2 separate regions of the Homo sapiens genome follow, and region 2 is linked to region 1. Evidence: promoter capture Hi-C in 16 types of primary human blood cells and fetal thymus (Javierre and others, 2016). All regions are on one chromosome and are shown on one strand. Each heading gives the region's core, a stretch centred on a gene start or on the middle of the fragment in contact. The rest is flanking DNA. Distances are from core to core; before and after follow the strand shown. Region 1 holds the start of NTN1 (netrin 1). Region 2 has its middle 9.1 kb from the start of MFSD6L.

Evidence for each region. The method cuts DNA at HindIII sites, captures the fragments that hold promoters and counts their contacts. A CHiCAGO score of 5 or more calls a contact.
Region 2: a contact is called between a fragment that was not itself captured here and the fragment with the promoter of NTN1 in region 1, in 5 of 17 cell types (total CD4 T cells, activated CD4 T cells, naive CD4 T cells and 2 more). The highest score is 6.3, in total CD4 T cells.

What each region holds. Positions count from the first base shown.
Region 1 is chr17:9,019,099-9,023,042 of GRCh38, reverse strand. It overlaps NTN1 (netrin 1), which reads right to left and starts at 1,533. Exons shown (of 7, transcript NM_004822.3): 1 at 1,458-1,533; 2 at 1-732. The coding sequence starts at 669. RefSeq lists silencers at 1,282-2,071, 2,122-2,171 and an enhancer at 1,592-2,135. The HindIII fragment of the contact is 7,248 bases long and covers 1-3,944 here.
Region 2 is chr17:8,788,290-8,792,187 of GRCh38, reverse strand. No RefSeq gene overlaps it. Among named protein-coding and RNA genes, the nearest start is that of MFSD6L, 9.1 kb to the left of the region's middle. The HindIII fragment of the contact is 2,963 bases long and covers 1-2,881 here.

The DNA.
Region 1 (3,944 bases), core at 284-2,783:
CAGCGTGCTGAAGGCGATGAGGCCGCCCGAGAGCGGGCGCATGTCGGTGTGCGAGTCGGTGCACACGGCCTCCTGCTCGTTCTGCTTGGTGATGGGCGCGCGGTGCGGCCGGTTGTACATCTTGCGGCACTGCGTGGAGTAGAACTGGAAGGGCACCCACGTGCGCCCGTAGTCCATGGACTTGTAGATGGCCATGGACTCGGGCCGCGGCGAGCAGAACTGCAGGCTCACGTAGGTCACTTCGAACTTCTTGCCGAGGGACAGTGTGAGCGTGACGTTGTGCGGGAACTGCAGGTAGTTCTCGGACTGCCAGCACGTCAGGTTGTGCGGGTTGTTGAGGTCGGTGAGGAAGGCGGGCGGGTGCGCCTTCTTGGGGTCGGACGCGTTGCAGAGGTGGCACGAGCGCAGCCGCTCCTCGCCGCGCTCGCTCACCACGCAGTAGCGCGCCGGGGGCCGGCCGCAGGTGCTGGACACGCGCACGTCCTTGCCGAAGGCCGCATTGACAAAGTCCGGGATGCAGCGGCGCGGGTGGCCGTTCTCGTCCGAGCAGGGATCGGGCTGCGCCGCCTGGCCCGCGAACATGCTGAGCCCGGGCCCGCCGCGCACCGCGCCCACCAGGCACGCCACCGCCGCCAGCGCCGCCAGCGCCTCCCACACTGCGCGCATCATGCTGCGTCCAGCTTGCCCCGGCCCTGCCGCGCCGAGGATCTGTCCGCCTGCCGCAGAAGGCGCCTGCGGAGAGAAGGGAGCTGCGCTCAGCCAGCCCGCCCCGCGCCCTCCAGCTCTCGGCGGGGTGGCGAGCGGAGATGCGGGAGAACGCCCGGCTTCCTGGGCACCCACCCCGCAGCCGACTGCCCGCCTCTCTCCCCCAAAGTCCCGCGGGCGGCGAAGCCGGGGCCCTCCAAGTCCGCACCGCTCGCGCCCCTTCTTCCCCGCCCGGCGGGAGAACGCTCTGCTTCCCCGCCACCGCCGCCCCCACGCCGCCCGAGGGGCATGCCTGAGCCGGTCTCCCCGTCCGCGACCAGCCCCCCTCGCACCCCAAGTTTCGGGCGCAGGAGAGCTGGGGGACCCCGACTCTGCACGGCCCGCGCCCCTTCGTCTCGCAGCCCGGGGTCCCTCTCAGATGCCCCCCGATCGCGTCCCCGCCGGAAAGTCCGCGTTCGGGACTTTACCTCTGGAGGGGGCAAAAGAGAAAGAAAAGTTTGCCTGGCCCCTCCGGGGAGCCCGCGCGCCGGTCGCCGGAGAGCCTCTCGCTCGCTGCTAGCAGGCGCGTCCCGCCTCAGCGCGGGCTTGCCAGCTCCATGCCCGGCGCGGCCGCCGCTGCCCCAGCCCCAGCCCCGGTCCCGGCCCCGCCGCCGCCTCTCTCGCCCGAGTGACTACGCGGCCGCCCGGCTCCCGCCGCTCCCGCCGAGCTCGGAGTGCTGCCCTGCCCGCGCCCGGGGCGCACACACACTCACGCTGGCCGGCGCGCACTCACACACACGCGCGCTCGCCCCCGAAGGCTCCGCCGCCGCCGCCACTCGCGCTGGGAGTGAGGGGCGGAGGGGAGCGCGGGGGCGGGGGGCGGGGCCGCCGGGCGGGGCGCCGGCCAATAACGTCCGCGAGCTGCCGCCAGCTCCGAGCAAAGTTTTCACCCCGGGAAAGAAGAAAGTTAAAGGGAACCGGCCCGGACGCCCGAGAGGGAGAGCACAGGCGGGTGGGAACCCGGGAGCCCGAGAAAGAACAGCAGAGACAAAGAGAAAGCGAGGAGAGCACCCGGGGAAACCCCGGAGAGGGGGCTGGGCCGGGCCAGGCGCGCACCCCGTGGGGGAGGAGGGGCCGCCGGGGACTGTCAGCCTCGCCCGCGCCCCGCGCCGCCCGGAGAGCCTCACGCCCGGGGGAGCGCGCGGGCGGGGGAAGGGGGCCACTTTCTCCCTCCCGGTCCCAGCCAAACACATCTGTGTTTGTTTTCTTTGCTGCGCGGAGGTCGGGCCTTCCTCTAACCCAGCCTGATGGCCCCCGGTGGCACCGCGCACAGGGCTGTGCCCCTGTGGGCACGCAGCCCGGGAGCGTGAGGAAGAGGAGGAGGATGTGACCTCTGCCTGCTCTCCATTTTTGCCCGAAGCCCCCGGGGTCCGGCGAGGAGGGGCTGCTCGCCCGCACTCCCACGGATATCACCGTGCGTGAGCCTGTCTGTCGGGAACGCGGCTTCGTTCTAGCCAAGGGAGCAGTGGTGGGCAGGAGGCTGAAGGGGTAGGAAGCTGGCAGCACCTGGACGCTGGCCACCGCCCCTCCAAGACGGGCCTGCCTGGTCTCAGGCATGGGGACAGCCCAGCCCTCCCCAGATCCCCTGAGGCAGGCGTATCGGTACTTCCTCAACCGCATTTTTAAGGGTGCAAAGCCCTGTAATAGCTCATGGGACCTCCACAGCAGCTTTGCTGTTGTATTAACTCCATTTTGCAGATGAGGAAACTGAGGGTCCCGGGAGCTGAAGAAACTCGCACAAGATCAACCCCCAAGTAAACATCAAAAACAGGAAGAGAAGCCTGGGCTCCTTCCACTGCAGGGCATTCGTCAAATGCATAACCTTGCCGAATGATGGTGTCATGGGGCATCTGCGGGGCCACCCAGCCCCTCCTTGCCTCATTCTCCATCGCCCCAATAAAAAGACTGAGGACAGTGACAGCATCCTTTGGTCATCTTGCAACAGCAGCCAGAGAGCTCTGGGAAAGGAATACACTGGGCCGAGAGTTTGGAACGGAATCTCTGCTCGTTTATTTGTTACTTGTAGATGTGTGGTCCAGTAATAGACCCGGATGAAAAGCCCCAGGTCCTGGTTCCGGCCCAAGGGCTGCCTTGCTGCATTAGCTCCATTAAGTGCCTCAGTTTGTCTTATTGGCATTTTCATAAACCCTGAGAATCTAAGAAGGGGCCTCGGGGCTCGTCTGGCCCAGCTCCGTCTCCTTGGAAGAAGGCCTTCCCCAGCCTCCCAGAGAGACGGCCACCCAAGCCAGCTCTTCCAGGGATGGGAGCTCACCACAGCTCAAGAAAATAAATCCATTCCATTGCAGGACAGCCTGGATTCATCTTCTTACCCCGGGGTAGCAATTTAGCTGTGCCTTCTTGTGCCGTTTACCACACTCTGCACTGTTTATTTATGCCTTACCTCACCTTGTGGCAGAAAGGATTTCAGGTAACTTACAAGGGTACATAAAATATGACACAATAACAAATTAAAAGTGAGGTCAAAGGAAATAAATGAAATGGTTAACCATGGTGACCTGTGAAATCGCAATGGTATACTGAAAGGCAGCATAGCTCTTAGGAGGAAACGCTTCGGAGCCAGGGTACCTGGGTTCAAATTCTGCCTCTGCTGTGTGACTATGGAAAGTCTATGCCTTGGTTTCCTCCATCTGTACAAGGGAGATAATACTTTCTACCCCACTGGGTTGTGAGCATCACGTGAGTTGACACATTTGAATATTATAGCTGATGGGATATAGACATACATATTGCAGGTCTGTAACACATATAAATAGGCTTTCTCATGTATGCAAATGTAAATATGCATAAAACCAGGCACATAGTACATGCATATAGAAATGTTAGCTGTTAGTATGAGGTCGCTTGATCTATACAGAAATTTTAAATCATTTAGAGAACACTTAATTACAGGGAAAGATGTTCATGACATATTATAATATGAAAAAAGCAAATTAAAAACACACAGTATAATGTCATTTTAATTTTTTAAAAAGTATGCATAAAAAGACAACACAGTTAATAGTGGTTATCTCGGAATAATGAGATTACAGGTGATTTTTATTTATCTTTGCTTGTATGCTCTCAGTTTTGCACAGTAAAATATGAAGTAAGAGAACAAAGAAAAGCTAAGAAGGGAGACAAAGTCGAGAGGAGGATACAGGTCCAATGCACCCTGGAGTTCCAACCTCTACACCTCTTCT
Region 2 (3,898 bases), core at 151-2,650, 230 kb after region 1:
AGTCAGACTCACCCGAGCTTTGATATCCATTGTTTTTATTAGGGGCTTCATCACATAGGCATGACTCATTGGATCACTGGCCTATGACTCAATCTTCAGCCCTGCTCCTCTCCCCAGAAGTCAGGCCTATATCAAAAGCTCAAAGCCCCAACCTTCTAAATACATGGTTGGTTTTTCTGGCATGGCCAGCCCCCATCTTGAGTCATTCCATTAGCATAAATTGTGTAAGGTCCCATCATGAGTCACCTCATTAGCATAAACTCAAGTGTGGTTGACAGGCCAACCACCAGTAAAAAAGACACTCTTCGACTTGGAAAATTCCAAGGATTTAGAGCCTATCTCCCAGGAACTGGGGACAAAGGCCAAATTCTTTATTACACAGGATAATTAATTTGAAAATCAGCAATGATCTTAAGTGCATTAATAGTTTCTTCCTTTTCATTGCTGAGTAGTATTCCATTGCATGGATATACCACGATTTATCCATTCATTTATATTGTATTATATTACCATACATTTCAATTCCAAACATGTAATTGCTTTCAGTTTTTGATGATTACAAATAAAACTTTTATGAATATTCATATCTAAGTCTTTGTGTGAACACACGCTTTCATTTCTCTTGGGTAAATACCAAGGAGTGGATTGACCAAATCATATGGTAGACATATGTTTAACTTTTAAAGAACTGCTAATAGTTTCCCAAAGTGGTTGTGCCATTTTACATTCCCACCAGCAGGGCATGAGAGTTCCAGCTTCTCTACACCCTCACCAACACTCAGTAAAATCAATCTCTTTAATTTTAACCGTTCTAACAGGCATGTAGTAGTAGAGTTGTTTCTTGGTATCCTTGGGGAATTGGTTCCAAGACCACCTCCTACAGATACCAAATCCAAGGATGCTCAAGTCCCTTCTATATAATGGCATAGTATTTGCATATAACTTATGCACATCATCTTATATACTTTAAATCATTTCTAGATTATTTAAAATACCTAATATAATGTAAATGCTATGTAAGTAGTTGTTATTCCCTACTTTTGCATCTGTATTATTTTTGTTGTTGTTTGGATTATTTTTGATCCATGGTTGGTTGAATCAGCAGGTACGGAGCCCACAGATACAGAGGACAGACTGTATCTCACTGTGATTTTAATTCTCATGTCCCTAATAACTAGTAATGTTGAGCACCCTTTCTCTGTACCGTGCTTTTGAAAATTAATCAGCAGCATAGAAGTACACAAGAATAACAACAGCCTCAGGTGACTATAAGAGCACATTACCTATCAGAATAGTAAATGCTTCAGAGCAGTGGTCTTTGTTTCTAGAATGCTTTAATGGGAGGAAAAAAAAAACAGAACAAAACAAAAAGACTTGATAACTTTGTGTCTTGGATAGTTTTACATACTCACAAGCCTAAAGATATTGAACCAAGTCAAATGATCTCTAGAGGCCCCTTTGACAATTCTTTTTTTTTACATTTTTTATTAGCAATGCTTTTGGAGAAAGAGCTTTTGAGAATTCAAATGTACGCGTGGGGATATGGCCTTTGTAGGAAAATGCTGAGACCACTGACTGCTTTCAAAGTTTATAAAAATGCGGAAGATGATCTTCAGTGCAAATTCCTTCGTTTAAACAAAGTCTGTCCCTGCCACACTGTTTGCCACATGGGTCTCCAGCATGCGGGATGGGAATAGTAATCTTTCTGACAGGCACATCTCTATAGGAAGTCTTTCCTGACCAACACCCTACTTTTCTATTTCTGCTAACTTTGGTTTACCATTCCCCCTCGACTTGGTTTCAAGGAAGTGGCTTTTCACGTTTTAGGGCATATTGTTTCCTTTAATAAGCTGACGAATGTCACAGGGGCTGTCCTCTGAAATATGCATATCAGATTTTTCATGCTGGTCACATTTCATGGATAAAACAACAACAACAACAAAACAGTCACTGGCCTCAGGTTAATTAAACAGATGAACCTGCTTGAGGCAGATTTTCTGCCAGATATCTTCCCAATGTCCCAAATTAGGAAACCTCCTTTCTAATTTCGTCTTCCCTTTACTCCATGACCTGTGATTTTGCTGTCACGAGCTTCCCGAATTCTCTTCACTTTGCCCCTTCTCCTTGTTGAGCCCTGCAGGCTTCTGTCTTTATGCTGGCGGCACCCTGGGGTGAGGTGTTGCAGAGTCAGAGGCTGTGATAGAGGGAAGTAAGTTCAGAGTGAAGGCCCTGGGCTCAAGCGTTCTTCAGGTCACCCTTCCTTCATAAGTATGTACTGAGCAAGGCTGTGATCCTTCAGGGTGCTGGGTGAGTCTTTAGGAACGCGTCTACCACTCCCTCCTGCATAACGTCACCAGATGCCTCCCACATCTTCCCGGGGTAATTAATGTCACCTCCCAATGGCTTTATGCCATTCTGCACATTTTGTTCACAGGGCCGCAATCATTGTTTGGGGATGCACATGTGAACTACCCCCCCCGTCCGATCGGAGTAACACTCAACGGACTCTCTCCCTTGGATATGAGGCCGATGCTACCCACCCTGCCTATTTGTGCAGATGTGAAACCTTGAACTGCACTTTGTTTCTATGACAAAGCCTGCCTGGGAACAATACTGACAATTTAGAAGGAAAGGCCGAACCACAAAACCATGTCCACAAACAGAATGGGACAGGACAACGTAAATGTCAAGTGAGAAGTTTAAATAGTGAGCATTTCTCTCTGGGCAGACAGGACAGCTGAGCGCAGGGACCTTCTGAAAAGACCCTCATGGAGTTTATGAAATAAGCCGGCGTATGGAGGAAGGACTGGGTCGTAAAGTCTTAGACTTCAAGCTGTGACTTTCACTCTATTACCTACTTTACCAGTAGGTCAGTTAAGCTTTACAGAATCAAAAGTAAATACAATTCTCAGCTCCTGATCTTGTAGCTGTTAAAGATATTGAGTTTGACCCTCTGACATGTCTTGGTTCCAGCTAAGAGGAATGTAAATATTGAATGAGCCATTAACCATCATGCTCAGGTTTACTTAGACCACTATTTCCCAACTGAGTTTTGCAGAACATGCAATCCTAGTGGTGTGGAGGGTTGGGGAGAGCATTACATAAGGATTCTGTCTGTGGTCAAACAACTTTGGAAAATGATGTTAATTATTGTCACCTTTTAGAAACTTGCAATACCTGTTAGCAATTAAAGACTCTCAAAAGCCTGCAGTCAACAAACTTGTTTCTCTCTCTTTGACCTATAATTCCCCTTATGTGGTGTCACAGCCTTCTTCGCATGTAACACTAATCACGATCTTTCAGAACTAGTGTTCCCTAGAAGACCCTTTGAAAAATGCCATTTGTAGTTTTCTGGATGATCTTTTCAACCCAATAGAGTTGATGCCAGGGACAAATCTGGGCTCCCACACCCAGACTAGCAGGAATCTTGTGCGTCGGGCTAATAAGAGGTGGACAAAGCTTATCTCATTAAGTCAGACCATCAAATTTATGAAATAAGATATTAGTATGGCCTCATTGTACAGGTGACTTGACTAAGGTTCAGAAAGGTTAAAATTCGAAACTAGATCTATCTGACCACAGAGTCCGTCCTCCCAACTGCTACATTCAACCAACTCAGGCAAGTGAAGAGGCTCTTCCTAGCAGGGGAGCAATGATCAGGGATAGGGGCACAATAGAGATAACACACCAGATACGCGTGTAGATTTCACAGGAGATTCATGGAAAATAAAGTTGGAAAGAAGTGTTGGAACAGATTGTGAACTTCCTAAGCCTCAATCTAAGGGAAACAGAACTCACACTGGTTGAAATTTGCTTCTGCTCTTTATGCCTCACACCTGCACACAGCAATACTCATAATCCTCATACTAATCTCAATTTACAGTAGGGGAAACCAAGG